7 separate regions of the Homo sapiens genome follow, and all the other regions are linked to region 6. Evidence: promoter capture Hi-C in 16 types of primary human blood cells and fetal thymus (Javierre and others, 2016). All regions are on one chromosome and are shown on one strand. Each heading gives the region's core, a stretch centred on a gene start or on the middle of the fragment in contact. The rest is flanking DNA. Distances are from core to core; before and after follow the strand shown. Region 1 overlaps LOC105375149 (a long non-coding RNA gene). Region 2 overlaps LOC105375149 (a long non-coding RNA gene). Region 3 has its middle 370 kb from the start of MGC4859. Region 4 has its middle 390 kb from the start of MGC4859. Region 5 has its middle 420 kb from the start of MGC4859. Region 6 holds the start of NXPH1 (neurexophilin 1). Region 7 overlaps LOC105375149 (a long non-coding RNA gene).

Evidence for each region. The method cuts DNA at HindIII sites, captures the fragments that hold promoters and counts their contacts. A CHiCAGO score of 5 or more calls a contact.
Region 1: a fragment that was not itself captured here is called in contact with the fragment with the promoter of NXPH1 in region 6 in 1 of 17 cell types (endothelial precursors); the score reaches 6.5 in endothelial precursors.
Region 2: a contact is called between a fragment that was not itself captured here and the fragment with the promoter of NXPH1 in region 6, in 1 of 17 cell types (endothelial precursors). The highest score is 6.1, in endothelial precursors.
Region 3: a contact is called between a fragment that was not itself captured here and the fragment with the promoter of NXPH1 in region 6, in 5 of 17 cell types (endothelial precursors, total B cells, megakaryocytes and 2 more). The highest score is 8.0, in endothelial precursors.
Region 4: a fragment that was not itself captured here is called in contact with the fragment with the promoter of NXPH1 in region 6 in 5 of 17 cell types (endothelial precursors, M2 macrophages, M0 macrophages and 2 more); the score reaches 8.1 in endothelial precursors.
Region 5: a contact is called between a fragment that was not itself captured here and the fragment with the promoter of NXPH1 in region 6, in 2 of 17 cell types (M2 macrophages and M1 macrophages). The highest score is 7.6, in M2 macrophages.
Region 7: a contact is called between a fragment that was not itself captured here and the fragment with the promoter of NXPH1 in region 6, in 1 of 17 cell types (endothelial precursors). The highest score is 8.7, in endothelial precursors.

The regions. Positions count from the first base shown.
Region 1 is chr7:10,085,827-10,088,526 of GRCh38, forward strand. It overlaps LOC105375149 (a long non-coding RNA gene), which reads right to left. Exons shown (of 3, transcript XR_001745088.2): 3 at 1,424-2,700. Among named protein-coding and RNA genes, the nearest start is that of MGC4859, 690 kb to the right of the region's middle. The HindIII fragment of the contact is 1,506 bases long and covers 552-2,057 here.
Region 2 is chr7:10,115,676-10,118,375 of GRCh38, forward strand. All of the region lies in intron 1 of LOC105375149 (a long non-coding RNA gene), which reads right to left. Among named protein-coding and RNA genes, the nearest start is that of MGC4859, 660 kb to the right of the region's middle. The HindIII fragment of the contact is 6,290 bases long and covers 1-2,700 here.
Region 3 is chr7:10,413,342-10,416,041 of GRCh38, forward strand. No RefSeq gene overlaps it. Among named protein-coding and RNA genes, the nearest start is that of MGC4859, 370 kb to the right of the region's middle. The HindIII fragment of the contact is 8,177 bases long and covers 1-2,700 here.
Region 4 is chr7:10,392,575-10,395,274 of GRCh38, forward strand. No RefSeq gene overlaps it. Among named protein-coding and RNA genes, the nearest start is that of MGC4859, 390 kb to the right of the region's middle. The HindIII fragment of the contact is 1,297 bases long and covers 615-1,911 here.
Region 5 is chr7:10,354,454-10,357,153 of GRCh38, forward strand. No RefSeq gene overlaps it. Among named protein-coding and RNA genes, the nearest start is that of MGC4859, 420 kb to the right of the region's middle. The HindIII fragment of the contact is 5,988 bases long and covers 1-2,700 here.
Region 6 is chr7:8,432,172-8,434,871 of GRCh38, forward strand. NXPH1 (neurexophilin 1) reads left to right here and starts at 1,438. Exons shown (of 3, transcript NM_152745.3): 1 at 1,438-2,584. RefSeq lists enhancers at 2,002-2,549, 2,550-2,700. The HindIII fragment of the contact is 6,580 bases long and covers 122-2,700 here.
Region 7 is chr7:10,136,242-10,138,941 of GRCh38, forward strand. The region is part of intron 1 of LOC105375149 (a long non-coding RNA gene); the gene reads right to left. Among named protein-coding and RNA genes, the nearest start is that of MGC4859, 640 kb to the right of the region's middle. The HindIII fragment of the contact is 200 bases long and covers 1,258-1,457 here.

The DNA.
Region 1 (2,700 bases), core at 55-2,554, 1.7 Mb after region 6:
ACAATATGAGGGATTAGAGAGGCTTTGGGAGAGAATAATATAGAGGATGAAAGAGAATGAAGAGTGGAAAATAATTGTTGAAATAGGAACCAAATGCCTACAATGGGGATTTAATGCAATGATTGTGCAGTGTGTCATTACTTCTAGGTCTTCTTTTGCGGATGCTGGAAACTAAACCCTGAGCCTGCCCCTCAATGTGGATACAGAAGAAAGTAGACTATTCACAGGGAGATTCAATGTAAAATGCGTACATTAGCCGTAATTAATGCTCTGATCAATTCATGAAATATTATTAAACACTAATGGCAGACATAGAGAGGTTTTACAATTACATAGGTAAATATAATAGAGCCCTTCCCTACCTTTGTATGAATAACAGGCATGAATATAACAGAGGGAGTTTAGGATACATGACCTCAAAATATTTTAAGCTGAAGGAATTTATGCAAAGGAGGAGATGTCTCTCTAACCTTCCCACTGCCCTTCCTTCCTGAAGCAGTTCATAAAAGCTGGGAAGGGTTTTCTAGCGTTCTCTTAAAATAGGTTATAAAAGCTTCATGTGAGAGGTGCTCTCCCTATATCCAGAGAAATGAGCATTTTTGTCTTTGAAGACTCAAGGGCATAGAGAAGCATCTGAGTCAGCAGACTCTGATATGTTTCCCTCAGTTTACTCCCACTAGATCATATTCCATTTTATCATATTTCTCCGTGACTCTGCATTTTACATCAAACATAGCATAAAAATATGCAGGTTTGACTGTTTCTTTTGGTCTTTCCTTACAAAGGCTCCAATGTCACTTAAAACTTATAATAAATACAATCATCCCTCAATATCCATGGGAGATTGGTTCCAGAACACCTAAGAATACCAAAACTTAAGGGTGCTCAAATCCCTGTTATAAAATGGCACATAATCTATGTACATCCTCTCATACACCTTAAATAATCTCTAGATTACTTATAGTTTCTAATACAATATAAATGCTATACAAATAGTTGTTATACTGTATTGTTTTTATATACATTATTTTTATTGTTGCATTGCTTTTTATGCATTTTGAATATTTTTGATTCATGGTTGATTCAATCTGTGGGTATGAAACCCACAGATATGGAGGGTAGACTGTAAATCTGCTTGCTTTTCTCTTGTTAACCTGTCTTTTGTTGTAGAAGCCTCAGTCATGAACCTAAAATCTTTTACCTGGGTAAAAGAAAAGCAATTGTCCTCCTTTATATCATCATAAACTGACCTGGTTTTGAAGATAGACAAATATACAAGGTTATGGAAAGACAGAAAAAAAGCAACTCAGACTTACTGAGGAGATCAGGAAAATATCATAGAAGGCTGCAGGGGAGGAACAAATTCCTCTATGCTTTTATTAATGGCTGGAGGATCAGTGTATTAAACTAACAAGCAGATAAACAAAAGAAAAGGCTTACATATTTAATTTTTAATTTTACATGCACTATGGCATCATTAAAAAAAAGTGAATACCAAAATGAGAAGCAAGATTTGGAAACTTGTATGCTACCTTAATAGCGGAAAGGGTAGGGGATAAAAGCCACTTATGGGAGAGAAAAATAAATTTTAGGAAATACAAATGGGCCCTTATGAGAATAAATGGGAGACAGAGTTTGTGGCAATGACTGTCTAGGTTTGGTGCAAACTTCTCATCTCTTTTCCTATGACAAGAGTCAATTTTCCCTGGTCAATGAAACTTCCAGGGAGGGAATTTGGACAGTTTAAATTTTTTTTTTTTTGGAGGATATATTTTCAGGCAGATAAGGGGAGTTCGCAGAAAGCCTCTTCCTGCGTTTGTTGATTCTCAAATGTCTTCAGCTCAAGATAATCCTTACGGCACTGTGGCATATTCTGTACCCTTTCAAGGTCAGATTAAGTTCACTTGTAGTAAGAGAACTGTAGACCAGATGAGTTAAAGAAACAAAGATAGAGAAATGGATATGGTGCATGTAGAAGGATTCCAAAAAATGAGAAAGACATAAGAATGAATGTGTGAAAGCCTTCACAAAGTTAAATTTCATAGAGTGATTATGCAAGCTTTGAGCACATAACACAAGCATCAAACTGTCAGAAGATGAGAAAAAGTCAAATAAGAATAGATTACTAAAGGCTTTGTGCAGCGTGCTTCACAGTCTGGACTTCAATTCTTCATAAACAGACATAATAATGAAACAAAATGAGTTGTGGATCATGGGCTAAACCTATGACCACAAACAGGAGAGAGAATCTTGAGCAATGCCCTCCTGCCAATGCATGTAGAAGAAGGAAGTATCTTGATGAGGTTCAGGACACACTGTTCCAAAAGATGGCACCTTGACATACTGAATAGGTGAAGGAATTTGAGGAAATCACAGAAGCAGGAAGGTGATTCAGATCTTTTCTTGTTCACCTTCCCTGCAGCCGGTCATAAAAAGTAGGGAGGATTTTCTGAGCTTCTCTTGAAACAGTTTATGAGACCCTCGTTTGAGAGGTGACCTCTCTATAACTGGATAAATGGGTATAGGCAGAAATACCCATTTTTGTCCTGTTACATTTTTCTGAGAGTCTCTGAGATTCTTCATCAAATTTAGCAAAAGAAAAAGAAATTCATCAAATTTAGCAAAAGAAATACTCAGATTTCACTGTTTCTTCAGGACTTTATTTCCTTACATAGGCTCTCATGCATGTAAAACATATTC
Region 2 (2,700 bases), core at 161-2,660, 1.7 Mb after region 6:
TAATTTTCTTTTACTTAGGGTTACTAAGTTACAATTTTTTGGTCAAAATATTGTGGACAACAAATGATACATCCCTTAACTCAATTCCTTAAAAATGTCTCATTATTTTTACTTTTCGGTACAGTCTGAGAAAAAAAAATTGAACTACATTTAGTTTAACTCTAGAATATAATAAAAAGAATTAGCTTCAGGCTATAGAGACACAACCACAACTAAGAAATTGCCTTAGAACACAGATTAAAGAGAAAGTTCTTATTGGGGCATATTCAACATAGTGATTTGGAGAGAAGAGTCAGAGACAAAGACAATGATAGGCCTTGCAGTAATAGTTATTGAAAAAAATGTCAATAAAATACACCTATTACATCGAAAGATGTTGAGTCTATCTGTAACTCAGACTTCCCATCTTTGATATGGTAGATGCAACTCACCCAATTGCAGGCTCGCTAATATAACACTTCATGATAGTTAATAAAATATTCATTAAATGTTTTAATGATTTTAATCTTCTCTGCTTTCTACCCTTTTCTATGAGAATTAAGCGAAAGCCAGACTGTACTGCAACACTTTTCTGGAAACTTCCTTCTAATTGCCCATACCCAAATAGCAAAATGTTTCAAATCAAAATATAGTGAAATCCTTGATTATTAAGCTATTAAATTATTGAATTATATGTATCACATCTCAATTGAGTAAATATTCATGTTTTGCAATCAAATTGTTCTATACCAAACAGGCACAGATATAGCTATGTAATCTGCTTATATGACTATGCTGGCATGTATTTAATAGCCTTTGGAGGAAAAACATGTAAAATTGAATGATTTTAAAATAAGTTAATTTTGCTCATTAATTTTTTTTTTTTTTTTTTTGAGATGGAGTTTCGCTTTTGTTGCCCAGGATGGAGTGCAATGGCGTGATCTTGGCTCACCGCAACCTCCACTTCCTGGGAATGCGTCACCACACCCGGCTAATTTTGTATTTCAAGTAGAGGCAGTGTTTCTCCATGTTGGTCAGGCTGGTCTGGAACTCCCAACCACAGATGATACACCTGACTTAGCCTCCCAAAGGGTTGGGATTACAGGCATGAGTCACCGCACCTGGCTTCATTAAAAATTTTTGTGGAAGTTTTGTTTCCTTTTCAAACACTTAATCCCTGAAGTCACAGCAAGCAAAATAGAACATGAGTGGTAGTAAATGTATAATCATGGGATGCTAGGTACTTGTGGCATAAATAGGTTGTATTATATCTAGTGGACCTGTCTCAGTTTTCTTTGCTGAATCCTAAGTTAGAACATTATTTTCCTCTCTCAACATGAAAAAGTAGAAGAAAAAATATACAAGGAAGGGAGAATGAGAGGAAATAAAGAGGAGAAGAGGAAGGCCAAGTGCTTCTTCCTTATAGCAGAACTTTAAGACTTTACAGCCTCTTGAGTCTTTTTTTGTCTAATTTTTAAATTTTCTTTACCTTCTCATTACATTCCGAGTCTCTTCATATTCTGTTAATTTATTTCTTTCTTTCCTTCTCTCTCTCTCCTCTTTCTGTCTCTCTCCCTTTCCTTCCTTCCTTTCTCTTTCTTTTCTTTTTCTTTCTTTCTCTCTCCCTTTCTTTTTTTCTTTCTTTCTTCTTTCTTTTTTCCTTTCTTTCTTCTTTCCTTTCTTTCTTCCTTCTTCTTTCTTTTTTTTCAAAGACAAATCCTCACTATGTTGCCCGTGCTGGTCTTGAACTCCTGAGCTCAGGTGATCCTCTGCCTCAACCTCCCTGGTAGCCAGGCCTACAGGGGAATGTCACCATGCCTCCCTATATTTTCATGAAGTTATTTCAATAGTCCAAATTTCTCTTAAAATGTTACATGGTGAAACCGTGTCTCTACTAAAAATACAGAAATTATCCACGTGTGGTGGCAGGTGCCTGTAATCAGAGCTACTCGGGAGGATGAGGCAGGAGAATCGCTTGAACCTGGGAGGTGCAAGTTGCAGTAAGCCGAGATCCCACCACTGCACTCCAGTCTGGGTGACAGAGTGAGACTCCATTTCAAAAAAAAAAAAAAAAGCGATGCCTATAACTAAACAAAATATTTGAGGAATGAATCTATCTTTAAAACTTTTGAATCTTCTTTATTGTCTCCACATATGTTTCTTCTATAAAATTTAAGCAGTGCAAGTGCACTTTTGTTACATGGATATAGTGTGCAGTGGTGAAGTCTGGGATTTTATCACCAGAATAATGTACATTGTACTCACTAAATAATTTTTCATCCCTCAACCCTCTCTTACTCTCCCACCCTTCTGAGTCTCCAGTGTCTATTATCACACACTCTATGTCCATGCTCTCACTTCTAAGTGAGAATATGTGGTATTTGACTTTCAGTTTCTGAGTTGTTTCACTTAAGACAATGGCCTCCGGTTCTATCCATGTTGCTGCAACAGACATGATTTCTTTTTTTATTTTTTATTTTATTTATTTATTTATTTATTTATTTTGTGGCTGGGTAGTATTCCATGGTGACTGTATGTGTGTGTGTCACATTTTCTTTACCCAATCATTATTGGACACTTAGGTTGAGTCTGTATATTTGCTATTTTGAATAGTGCTACAATAAACATAGAAGTGCAGGTATCGTTTTTATATAATGATTTCTGTTCCTTTGTTAGATACCTAGTAGTTGGATTGCTGGATCAAATGGTAGTTCCATTTTT
Region 3 (2,700 bases), core at 83-2,582, 2.0 Mb after region 6:
ATACAGTTATTTATTCTATATGTACTTTCTAATTTTTTAAATTGACAGAAAAATTATGTGTATTATTTTAATATATAACATGATGTTTATATAGACATATATATATATATCTATACACACACACATACACAAAAAAACACACCACATTGGGAAATGATGAAATCAAGCTAGTGAACATATTCATCACCTCACCTTTTTTGTGTATGATGAGAATACTTAAAATCTATTCTGTTAGCAATTTTCAAGTACTGTATACAACATATTATTATTTACTATAACATTAACTATGGCAAAAAGCACAATTACTTTTGCACACACCTAATATAATCATCATTTCATACAACAGATCTCCAGAACTTACCCCTCCTACCTAACTATAACTTTGTACCATCTGACCAACATCTCCCAATACTCCCTCCTACCCCCAAACCTCTGATAATCACTATTCTACTTTCTGCTTCTATGAATTTAACATTTTAGATTCTACATATAAGTGAGTCATATAATATTTGTCTTACTGTGTCCGGCTTATTTCACTTAGCGTAATGTCCTCTAAATTCATCCATATCATCACAAATGATAGGATTTCATTCTTTTTAGAGGCTGAGTAGTATTCTATTGTATATATATACCAATTTTCTGTATTTATTCATTACTTGATGGACACTTAAGTTGTTTTCCTATCTTGGCTATTGTGAATAATGCTTCACTAAATATGGGAGTGCGGATGTGTCTCTGACACACTGATTTCAATTCCTTTGGATATATACCCAGAGATGGAATTGCTACCCAAAACAATCTACAGATTCAATGCAAGCCCTATGAAAATATCAGTGACATGTTTCATAGAAACAGAAAAATAACTCTAAAATTCAAATGGAGCCACAAAAAACTCTGAAAGAAATCTTGAGCAAAACGAGCAAGGCTGGAGGCATTCTACTTACCTGATCTCAAAATCTACAGAGCTATAATCAAACAACATGATAATGACATAAAAACAGATATATAGAGCAATGTCACAAAATTGAGCCCAGAAATAAATCCATGCACTTATAGCCAACTGATTTTTGACAAAGGTGCCAAGAACATACAATGGAGAAAGGACAGCCTCTTCAGCAAATGGTGTCAGAAAAACTGGATATTCACATGCAGGAGAATAAAATTACACTTGTATCTCACGTGATAGATGAAAATCAACTCAAAATGGATTAAACACTTGAATTTAAGACTTGAAGCTATAAAACAACTAGAAAGAAACATGGGGAAATCGCCACAACATTGATATGGCCAGTAATTTCTTATATAAAACTCAAAAACCACAGGCAACAAAAGCAAAAATAGATAAATGTGGTTACATCAAACTAAAAGGCTTTTGCAAAACAATGGAAACAATAAATAGAATGAAAACACAACCTAAAGAATGGGGGAAAATATTTACAAATTATAATCTGATAAGGGGTTAACATTCAAAATATATAAGGAACTCAAATAACTCTATAGAAAAAAAATGGACAAGGGACCTGAACAGACATTTTTCAAAAAATATACAAATGGGCAACAGGTATATGAAAAAATGCTCAACATATTATCTGACAACTGTTAGAATGGTTATTACCAAAAAGATGAAATATAACAAATGTAGAGGATATGTGGAAAAGGGAACCCTAATATACTGTTGGTGGGAATGTAAATTAGTACAGCCATTATAGAAAACAGTATGGAGGTTTCTAAAAAATTGAAAATAGAACTACCATGAAATCCACTATAAATACATATTTTTAAGCAAACGCTTTGCATTCTAGGTAGGTACTCTGTTAGGTACTAGGGTCTTTCTTAAGGTAACAAATACCAAAAAGGCACTTCTCTTGTTTAAAAAAGGTACTTATCCAAATGCCTTTTCATTTCAATTGCTGATGATTCTCATGAAAGCAATTTCCCTTTCTCAATAAAATAAGTGACAATTGGAAGAATTGTGAAAAAACTGGAACCCTGTGACTTACCTTGCTATGGTTAAGGGATGCAGATAGAAATGGATAGAGTATCAAAAATTAGCACCATCCAGAGAGGTAGAGTGGTGAAAAGTGTGAAAATTCATGAGAAACCTAGCTCTTAATGATTTAACCACTCATAAGCTGGAAACTTGCTCAAGTCTCTTAACATTTTAGGCACTGTTTTCTCTTTGTTACATATCAAGAGGATTACACAAGGGGAGACTAGATGCACACATACTTAAGTTTCTTTTAAACTATAATATTCCACTAGTCTAATCAATTATTAATCATAACTTCATTTTTTAAGAAGTAGTATGATCCATTGTGACTTTCCTGGTAGAGCTTGACAGGGGAAACATAAAGCATCCTGATTTTCTATCAGCCCTCAGATCCCCACGGGATCTGCTGAGTTATGAGTGTTCAGTGCTCCTACCCTCACTTTCCAGCCTGAATCAGTTGTAAAGATATTTCTTTCTCTGGGACCACCCAAGGCCTTATGGTCAGAGTAGGAGGTCCAAATGTAGTATATGTCATCAAACATAATGCTTCCTTGTTAGAAAAGGGAGATGCAAGATATAGCAACTAATAGTCACTAACTTTATGGGGACTGTCTAAACTTGTTCCTGACAACTAGATCTTTAGAAGCTACCTGACCTTGTCACATGTATCACGTCTGTCTTCTGACATCAAATGTTGCTATGAGAGAATC
Region 4 (2,700 bases), core at 13-2,512, 2.0 Mb after region 6:
ATATATTCATAAAATTAAAGAAAATGAGTACAACAAATGCTGAGTTGTTAGCTTCCATTTAAAAGACTTAATTCAGAGCTTCAGGAAATTTACTTGTAAAATTAAATTGGATGAGTAATGTAAATGAACTGAAAATTCCAGTAAAGATCATAAATAAAATAGTATAGCTGCAGTTTATCAACTTGAATGGAGTCAGAAATTGGAGTCCACAAAGTGTGACAATTTGAAATAGCCTTATTTAACACTTATATTTAAAGATGTGAATTATAATATCATAATTGTACCTAAATTTATGTATCTATTTGTAATTCTTATACATTTTTGCTAAATTTTTATGTATTTTAACAGCTGAAGAGGCATAAATAAGTAAATAAAATAAATAAAATTTGGAAAATAGTTCACATATATATATATATTTTATCTTTGGAAGTTGCCAGGAATCTTTAGAGCCAAAGCCTATGAAAAGTAATGAATGACAGGGATTCAAACTTCAATAATTATGATAAGCCCTAGCAAGCAAAAGAACTCTATTGTCAGTATCATATTTATTTCTAATTATTTTAACTTATCTGGAACTTATAGCCTCATTTCTAAGGATAACCAGTACAGTTATAAGCTTGTTATCCATGTCCCTCCATATAAACTGCTGAAAGGCATTTACAGTCATAGGTCAATGCATGGCCACCAATTTCAGCACTTAACAGAGTGGAATAATCATTAACCTCTCTACAACTGCTAATTTGACTAAATTAACTTAATAGTAATTAGCTCTAACCATTCAGTTTAGTCAAATTGGGTGATGATTCATCCCAAAAATGTGAACATTATACATCCTTGACCTTTCATCTTTTTATTTTAAATATTCTCCCCCATGTGATGCATGTTCACCTTCATCATCTATAAGCTGATGACTCACAGATCAAAATCTTCAGTTTGGATGTCTCTCCTACATTCAGTTTCATAATAAACAATTTCCCAAGCATGTCTGACAAACACCTCAAACTCAACTAGTCCAAAGGAAAGCTCAGGTTTCTTCGAAGGAGGGGTCAGCTTTATTCAGGTATTATTTTTTATATATATATATATATATATATATATATATATATAATATATATATGTTATACGTAATATATTATTACATAATAATATATTATAATATATAACAGATATATATTATATGTTATATTATACATAATTATATATAATAAAATATACCAATTTTAAGTGTGTAACTTGATGAGCTTAGAAAAATATAGATTATGATAATATAGAACATTCTCAAGACACCAAAATGTTCCTTCTTGTCCCAATCCCCTGGCAACTGTGGATCTGCTTACTATCATTAGAGGTTACCTCTTCCAGAATTTCATATGAATGGAATTATACAGGAGGTAGTCTTTATTGTATGACTTCTTACATGTAACATAATGCTTTTGAGATTCATAATGTTGTGTTTAGTTGCAGTTCGTTCCTTTGTATTGAAAAGCAGTATTCCACTGCATGGATGAATTACAGTTTGTTTATCCATTCAGCAACTGACAAGTTTTTTTTTTTTCAGATTTTGACTATTATGAATATAGTTTCTAGAAATGTTTACATGCAGGTCTTTTTATGTATCTTGGGTAAATAACCAGGAGTAAAATTACTGGGTAATATGGTAAGTATTATGTTAAACTTCAAAAGACACTGTCCACATGTTTTCCAAGACGACTGCATCTTGCATTCCCAATAGCAATGCATGAAAGTTCCAGTTGCCGCATATCCTTGTTAACACTTGAAATAGTCAGATTTTTTCATGTTAGCCATTTCAGTTAATGTGTTTTGGTATCACATTATGGGTTTAATTTGCATTTCCCTAGTGACAAGTGTATTTATTTGCCAAACATATGCCCTCTTCAAGTATTTCACCCAAGCTTATTGTCTTGTCTTCCTATTTTTGAGCTATAAATGTTCTTTACATATGTTGGATGTAGACATTGCAAATATTTTCACCCAGTCTATGGTTTGACATTTCATTTTTTAAGTGCTTTTGAAGAAAAAAATATTTCAATTTCTATAAATTTCAATGTATTATTTTTTATTGTATAGATTTTGCGTTTATATGATTGTTCTATTAGAAACAAAATGCCTAACTCAAGGTCACAGAGATTTTCTTCTATGTTTGCTTCTAGAAGATTTTTAGTTCTTTTGCTCTCATTTTAGATTAATGACTTAGGTTAATTTTTGTACATGATGTGAAGCAAGAATCAAAGGGGTGTGTGGGTGTGTTTATGTGTGTATCCAATTGTTTCAACACCATTATTTGCAAAGATCACTTCCATATTGAATGCCCTTGGAAATGTTGTCAGTAATTAATTGGCCACAAATTTGCAGGTGTATTTCTTTCTTTTCTTCCATTTTTTTTTTTTTTCCAGAGTCTCGCTGTGTCACCCAGGCTGGAGTGCAGTGGCACGATCTCAGTTCACTGCAACGTCCGCCTCCCGGGTTCAAGTGGTTCTCATGTCTCAGGCTACTGAGTAGATGGGACTACAGGTGAGGGCTCCCGCACCTGGCTAATTTTCTTTCTTTTTTTTTTTTTTTTTTGTATTTTTAGTAGAGACAGGGTTCACCATGTTACCCAGGCTGGTCTTGAACTCCTGAGCTCAGGCAATCCGCCCACCTCGGCCTCCCAAAGTGCTAGGATTACAGGCGTGAGCCACT
Region 5 (2,700 bases), core at 124-2,623, 1.9 Mb after region 6:
GTAACCATTCTAATATTTGCCATCTCTATGAGTTCAATTGTTATAATTTTTAGATTCCATGAATAAGTGAGAATATGCAATGTGTGTCTTTCTGTGCCTGGCTTATTTCACTTAACATGATGACCTCCAGTTTTATCCATGTTGTTGCAAATGACAGAATCTCATTATTTTCTATGTTGAACAGTACTTCATTGTGTGTTACTGCCAGATTTTCTTTATCCATTCATCTGTTGATGAACATTTAGGTTGCTTTCAAATCTTGGCTATTGTGAACAATGAACTGAAAAGTCTGCTGCAGACATACGAGAGTTCAATTGTATACTATTTGTTTCTTTTCTCTTGCTGCTTTTAGAATCGTTTCTTTATCCTTGATCTTTGGGAGCTTGATTATTACATACCTTGAGGTAGGGTTCTTTGGTTTAACTCTGCACAGTGTTAAACTTAAACTTCTTGTACTTAAATATTGACATCTTTATCTAGGTTTGGGAAGTTCTTGGACATTATCCCTTTGAATAAACTGTCCACCACATCTCTTTCTGTACCTGATATTTAAGGCTATTAACTCTTAAACTTGCCCTTTTGAGGCTCTTTTCTAGATTTTGTATGCATGCTTCAGTGTTTTTTATTCTTTTTCCTTTTGTCTCCTCTGATTGTATATTTTCAAACAGCCTGTCTTCAGGCTCACTACTTGTTTCTACTTCTTGAAAAATTGTGCTGTTAAGAGAATCTGATGGATTCCTCAGAATGTCAATTGCATTTTCCAACTCTAGAATTTCTGCTTGGTTCTTTTTAATTATTTCAATTTCTTTATTAAATTTATTGGATAGATTCTGAATTCCTTCTTTGTGTTTCCTCAAAACTACTCTGAAGTCTCTGTCTGAAATGTCATATATCTCTGTTTCTCCAGGACTTGTCCCTGGTGCCTTATTCAGTTTATGTGGTAAGGTCATGTTTTCCTGGATAGTGTTAATGCTTGTAGATGCTCATCAGCATCTGAGAATTGAAGACTTAGATATTTATTGTAGTCTTCATAGTCTGGGCTTGTTTGTCCTCGTTCTTCTCAGGAAGGTTTTCCAGGTATTCAGAGGGACTTAGGCCACAAGCCCAATAATGCTGTGGTTTTTGCAGACTTGTAGAGGTATTATTTTGGTGGTCTTGGAAAAGATCTGGAAGAGACTCATGTTCTTTTCTCTTACTTTTTCCAAAATAACAATAAAAATAACAATAATAATAATACAGAGTTTTCTTTCTGTGCTGAGCTGCCTGGAACTGGGGATGTGATGATGCAAGCAACCCTGTTTCCCCCACCAGTGGGACTATGCTTAGTCAGATGTGAGGCCAGCACAGCACTAGGCCTTGCCCAGAGCCCTTCCCCCTTCAGGGTGGCAAGTTTCCCCAGGTCACAGGCATATCTAGAGATGCTGTGTGGGACCCAGAATTTGGAGTCAAAAATGTTAGAAATTCGATACAACTGGGTAAGCTGGCACTCAAACCACATTACAAAGTTTTTCTCACTTTTTCTTCCCCTTTCTACAGGCAGAGGAGCCTCTTCCTGTGGCCAGAACCACTACTGGTTTATGGGGGGTTCTGCCAGGCCACTGCCAATGTTAGCTTAAAGCCCAGGGGCTCTTCTCTCAGCTTGTGAATGCTGCCAGGCCTAGGACTCACCATTCCGGGCAATGGGCTCCCTTCTAGCCTAGGATAGGTCTAGAAATGCCACCCAAGAGCCTATTCCTGAACTTGGGACTCCAAGAGCTGCTTGTTACTCTACCCCATTGTAGCCAAACTGTTACCTAGGGTGCAAGACTTTTCCCTCTGCTTTCCTCAAACAGAAACAGTCTTTCACCATAGCTAGGTGGGAATGTGCTGAGTCTCTCCTGAAACCAGTATGTCTCAGAACCCAAGTTTCCACAGTGTGCTTCTTGGGTATTACTGGTGGATTTCAGGGCCCAAGAGCTCTTTAGTCAGAAGATAATTAATCTCGCCAGGACTTGGTCTTTCTCTTCAAGGCAGTGGGGTACCTTTTGGCCCATGATGCGTCTAGAAGTGTCTCCTGGGAGCTGGACCTGGAATGGGGACCTCCTGACTCTGCCCAGTGCCCTGTTCTACTATAGCTGAGCTGGTATCCAAGATGCAAGACAAAGTCCTCTTTACTCTTTGCTCTCCTCTCCTTAAGCAGAAAGAAGAGGTCACTTTTGTTGCTACATGCTGCACTAGCTGAAGTCAAGGGAGGGTGCAAGCATTCCCTTAGTCATGCCAGCTGGTATCTCCCTAGGTCACATGCCACCTTAGTTCACTGGTTGTAATCCCAGTCTAGCACTAGGAGTTACCTAGGAATTACAATTCTTGTGTCCTGGACTCCCTTTGAAGTGTACCTAGGACCCCAGAGGATGTCAGTTCATGGTGGCAAGGCTTGCCAAGAAACTAAAGTTCTGATTTGAATGGGTGAATCCTCTATGGCCAAGGCTATTCCAAATGCTCCCTCCATGCACTGGTACCAGCTGAACCCAGCAGGGCTTTATTCTCAACTATGACAGGACAGCACTGAGTTGTGACAGGCAGTACCTAGTCACTATACTTTCCTCTCAAAAGTGTACAGATTCTCTCTCCATTCTGCATGGCCACTGCCAGGAGATGAGGGAGGAGCAATGTTAATGATTCACCAGTGCCTCTCCTGTCATCCTCAATGCCTTTTTAAAT
Region 6 (2,700 bases), core at 188-2,687:
ATAGAGGCAGGCAACATTTGCTCCAGCTCTACACTCCAGTCTGGGAGGCCTGGGAGCTCCTGTACAAATAGGAATCAATTTTAGGATAGCCTTATGAATCCTAGAGGATGGAATTAGACAAAGCTTTTTTTGCCCCTGCTTTGACCATTTGGCCTCAGATACGGGTGCCCCAATACTTTAATTTTTCTTCTTTAAAGTTTAAAGTTTTTAAGAAAATGAAATAGCTGGTAAGTGAAAATAGTCAAGAAAACATTGTAATTATGCTATATGTACATGTGCGTTTTTTCTGAAGTGGATTTTCAGAGACACAGTTAGAAGGTGTGCTTCACTGCTTTATTCTGCATATGCCCCAATGAATTCCAGGAGGTCACAGCAGCAGAGTACAACTTTTAAGATTAGAAGAGCTTGCTCTTTAAAGAGTTATTTTTAGCTGGAAGGGAGAGTGTAGACCTCAAAGTGCTGGTAGGTATGTTCTACAGTGGGGATCTAATTTGGAGGTCTTTGGAGATCTGATTCCAGGGGAAGGTCTCAGTGGGGCTCCTCTTGCCTCTGCTGCAGGACTGGGTGGCTCTGCTGATTGTCACTGCCTTGTTTGAGGGGTGGTCTCCATCATCCAGGGGAATTCAGCCTGGGACCTATTGTCTAGAGTGTACATTGTATCTAGGCCCAGACCTGCCAGAGTGTCCACAGCCACACTTGAGGAAAGGACATTCCAGACTCATTAAATATCACAATTCGATTTTGATGTCACTAACTCAGGTTCCTGAGATAAATTTCCATACAATTCCTACAGATTGATATGGATATGTGCATCACCCCAGGAGAGGCTCTGGTGAAGGGCAGGCTTGGAGATGCAATGGGCAAGGTTGGGGAAGAGATACCCTCTTCCGGGTTCCGATTTGTGCCCTGAATTTGGGCAAGCTCAAGGAGCACTGGCAACCCCACCAGCACCAGAAGAAGCTGGTCCTGGCTGTCTCCCGAGACTGGTGAAACTGCTCTGGTGGTGGTGCACTGGAAGGGTGGAGGAAAAAAAACAAAAAACAAAACAGGGTTTGAGGGGGAATGGCAGGGACACGGTAGAGGCACAGAGATACAGAGACCTAGAGTCAGAAATCCTGAGTGAGACACACAGAAAGGCAGAAAAAGGCAGAAAGATGCTGAGGGACAGAGACGCAGACCACAAGAATGACAGAAGAAGGAGACAGAGAGAGAGAGGGAGTGAGAAAGATACTGAGAAATAGGGACAGTAAGGGAGAGACTGAGAAAGACAGAGACAGCCAGAGTCGGAGCACAGAGGCCGAGTCTGGGAGACGCTGGTTGAGTGGGAGGTGTCAGTAGCGAGGGAGGTGGTGACGGCTCGAAGCATCCCCCGTCCTCCTCCTCCCCCTTCACGCTCAGCCCAGCCGGCGGCGAGGAGTCCAGAGGCCAAGGTCGCCCAGTCCTCTCGGCTGTCTCGAGCTGAATGGCTGGCAGTCTGCGGCTCCCCCGCCTCCGGCCCGGCAGCCACAGGTCGGAGGCGCCCGGCGTCGGCGCTCGAGGCCGGCAGGGGCGCCCTGCACCCTCCCGCGCCCTTCCCCGCCCTACGCGACTCCCGGCTGCTCTTCCCGCCACTCCCCTGGGCTTTGCGATCTTCCCTACGCCCCCCGGGAAGGGGGCGCTGCGGCCACCGAAGACACCGCGGGAGCCACTTGTCCCTGTGGGCCCAGCCCGCGAGAGCCTGAGAGCCGGATCTGTTTACACAGGGTACTAATTAGTCTTTGAGGAATCATTCACCCACGTGCCAAAGTAATTGTCCGTGTCAGGAAGGTAGGCGTGCCAAGCCGCGGCTCTGCGGAGAAACCACGACCACCGCGGCCGCCGGAAACCCAAAGCGCTCCAGAGCGTCCCCGGGTGGCCGGGCAGCACCAGGGACAGCGCCCGGGACTCCACTGGGGACCGGCTCCTGGGCTTCCCAGCGTCGCGGGTAGAGGTACAGCTGCTCCGTGTGCCGCAGGCTCCAGATTCTCGCCACCCCACCCCTCCCTCAGAAACTCGGACTGCTCTCGTCTGCCGTGTGGTTCTCTTTTCTTCCGAAAGGCCAGTGTCTTATCTCTCCACTTCAAGTCCAGAGGACTTGCTCAGTCTCCTCCCCTTAAGTCATTTCCACCATCCTCAGGCAGCTGTGGGAAGCCGAGAGTCCTGGACTGTTCGTCCGGGTGCCAGCGCTGGCAGTCCCAGTCCGTCCGGTGCAGCAGCCCGGCGCATTCCCCTCTCTCCCTCCCTCTTGCTCTCCCTCCCTTTCTGTCTTCCTCTCTTTCCTCCTCTACTGCTCCCTCCCTCTCTTGCCTCTTAAGTTTCCTGCACCGTGAATCCAACTGTGCCAAGCCTTGGCTCCCGCGAACCAATCCTGAGCGCGACCCGGGCACTGGGACGGCGACTCCGCCAAAGCTGGACGAGGCAGCCGGACCCGTCTGCGCTCGAGCATGGAGACGGAGCGCCTGGGAGGGCACGTCCGGGGCGCTGGAGACGCCAGGCCCGAGTAGCTTCTCCATGGAGCCTGCCCAGAGCGGTCCCTTCTCGCAGGATTCGCCCCAAGTCCTGTGCGGTACGTACCCTTTGCCTCCGCTGTTCCCGGAGGGTACACCTGGGAGCGGGGTGGTGGGCACGAGGAAGGGACGGCAGGGAGGGGCGCTGGTTAGGAAAGAGAACAAGCCTGGCAGG
Region 7 (2,700 bases), core at 108-2,607, 1.7 Mb after region 6:
GGACAGAGCAAAAAGACTGCAGTCTTTGAACTAGGAAGAGGGCCCTCAACAGAGCTCAACCATGCTGCATCCTAATCACAGACTTGTAGCCTCCAAAAGAGTGAGAAATAAATTTCTGTTGTTTATAAGCCACTCTGTCTATGCTAATTCTTTAGCAACCCAAACAGACTAAGACAAGTGCTTTGTATTATCAAAACATACAGAGTCAAACTATACAAATTGATTAACTAAAATGTAGATTTGAAGGACAGTCTATAGGGCGACAAAGGAAAGCTGCTCTGTTTTGTGTCAATGAGCCAGGACCAATGGGCAAAGTTACAGAGTCCAATTTCAGCTTAGTGCAGTAAAAACAGCAGTTACAGCTGCCCAACAATATACCAGTTCCACTCTCAGAATAGCAACTGAATGATCACAGAGCATGGAAGAAGGAATCTGTGATCTGGAAAAGAAGTCAGACTCGAGTGCTGGAAGTTCTATGCCTTCTGGGAACTAGATCTATTAGAGTAAAATATCAGATCTGTACTCAATTATAACTATATTCTTGAACTTCAAGGTGAGACTTGAGATATATGTATATGTGTCTATTATTTTTTTCACCAAGTTAGACAATATTTTGTATTTAACCTTGCCACGTGTCTAGTATTTTTCTAGACCTATTACTTTTATATTTCTTCTCTGTACAGTATAATTTGTTCACTTTATCTTAAGTTTTAGAGTTTTTTACTGCCGCATTCAATTTATATATTTCATAACCACCAAATATAAAACTGCTTCACTTTTGACAACAAATTCATACCTATTCAGCTTAATTTTAAAAAATAAAATTAAACCCCTAAAGCTAGGATTTTACTTTGTAGAACTCTTATAAATCACAATTTTTTCCTTTTTTGTAGGATAACAGTTGATATATTTGTCAAGCTTTTTTTGTTGAGAATGAGTCTTGCTCTGTCGCCCAGGTTGGAGTGCAGTGACGCAATCTCGGCTCACTGCAAGCTCTGCCTCCTGGGTTCACACCATTCTCCTGCCTCAGCCTCCTGAGTAGCTGGGACTACAGGCACCTGCCACCACGCCCAGCTAATTTTTTGTATTTTTAGTAGAGACGGGGTTTCACTGTGTTGGCCAGGATGGTCTGAATCTCCTGACCTCGTTATCCACCCTCCTCAGCCTCCCAAAGTGCTGGGATTACATGCGTGAGCCACCGCGCCCGGCCTATATTTGTCAAGTTTTACAATCTCATCAAAGGCATATTTACTTTTAAGCTTTTAAGAACGTTCTATATGGTTAAGATTAACATAACTCTACTTATAATATTTGTGGGGAAAATAATTATAAAACAATTTTATAAAATTGCTGAAAAGAGAATGTGTTTTTCATTCAACAGAAACATGCAGTGAATTTGACTCACAATTCCTGCCTCTCCTCAATTAAAAACCTCTTCTTACATTTCCAGCCTACAAAGCTTCTCCTCCTTTACTTGTCGTTAATTATACCAGCATTTTCTCCTAGACTCTATTAATTGGTAGGTTCTAGGCTAGTAAAAGACCTCTGTCTATCCATTCACTTACTGTAACAGAGAGCTGACACAGAAAATTCAGATTAACATTCTAGTAAAAATGTTATTTAAACCAATACTTAAATTATTTTTTGGACAAAATTATCTACATAATTTTATTAATCCTATACTTCACAGAGCCAAGCAAAGTTATTGAATTGATTGGGAATGCATAGCTAAAAACAAAATGGAATTTGATTACCTATGAACCTCATTTAAAAAATAATAGCAGTGTTAACCCTATTTTGACTTTTACATGCTGAATATTTGTGTTCTCCCAAAATTTATGTTGACTGTAACCCCCAACGTGATGGTATTTGCAGGTGGGGTCTTTAGGAGGTAACTAGGTTGAGATGAGTTCCTGAAGGTGGAACCCCCATGATGGGATTAGCGTCATCTCAGTGTGCTGTCACTAAGAAAAGGCCATGTGAGGAGGTAACTGTCTGCAAGCCAGAAGCAGGGTCCTGACTAAGAGCCAAATCTGCCTGCACACTGATCATAGACTTCCCAGCCTCCAGAACCAAGAGAAATAAATGTCTGTTGTGTAAGCCAAGATAAGCGTTCTTTAGTTGGAAAGATTTTAGTCAGGCTTCTGAAACTTCTCCTAGGCCCATATATGCCCTTCCTTATAAAATCCAGTTTTAGCAAAAGAACCTGGCTAAATCAGTTTAGCCAGGACTCCCCATCCTCGATATCTGATTATCTTCAATATCTGATCAGATTCCTCCTCCTCTACCATCCCCCAGCTGATGTCTGATCATTGTGGCTTGTCTTTAGTAAAAATCCTGTTAACTTAATTTAGCCAGAACACCCCTGACCTCTGACATTTCCTCTTAGTAATTTTCCATCCACTGACTCTCACACTGCTCCTTGGCTAAAATTCCCACTTGTTCATACAGTATGCAGAGTTCAATCTCTCTCCTCAGCTTCAAGACTCTGTTGCAGTATTCCTTATAACTATCACAATGGTCCTGAATACAGTCTTCCTTACCATGCTTTAACAATTGTCATTGAATAAGTTTTTTCTATAACAACCATCCAGTCTATGATATTTCGTTTTAGCAGCCTGAGCTGACTAGGACACCGCGCAAGCCAACTCTAACATAGGAAAGTATCTTAAATTGATTGACTAAAGTTGCAAAAGAAAA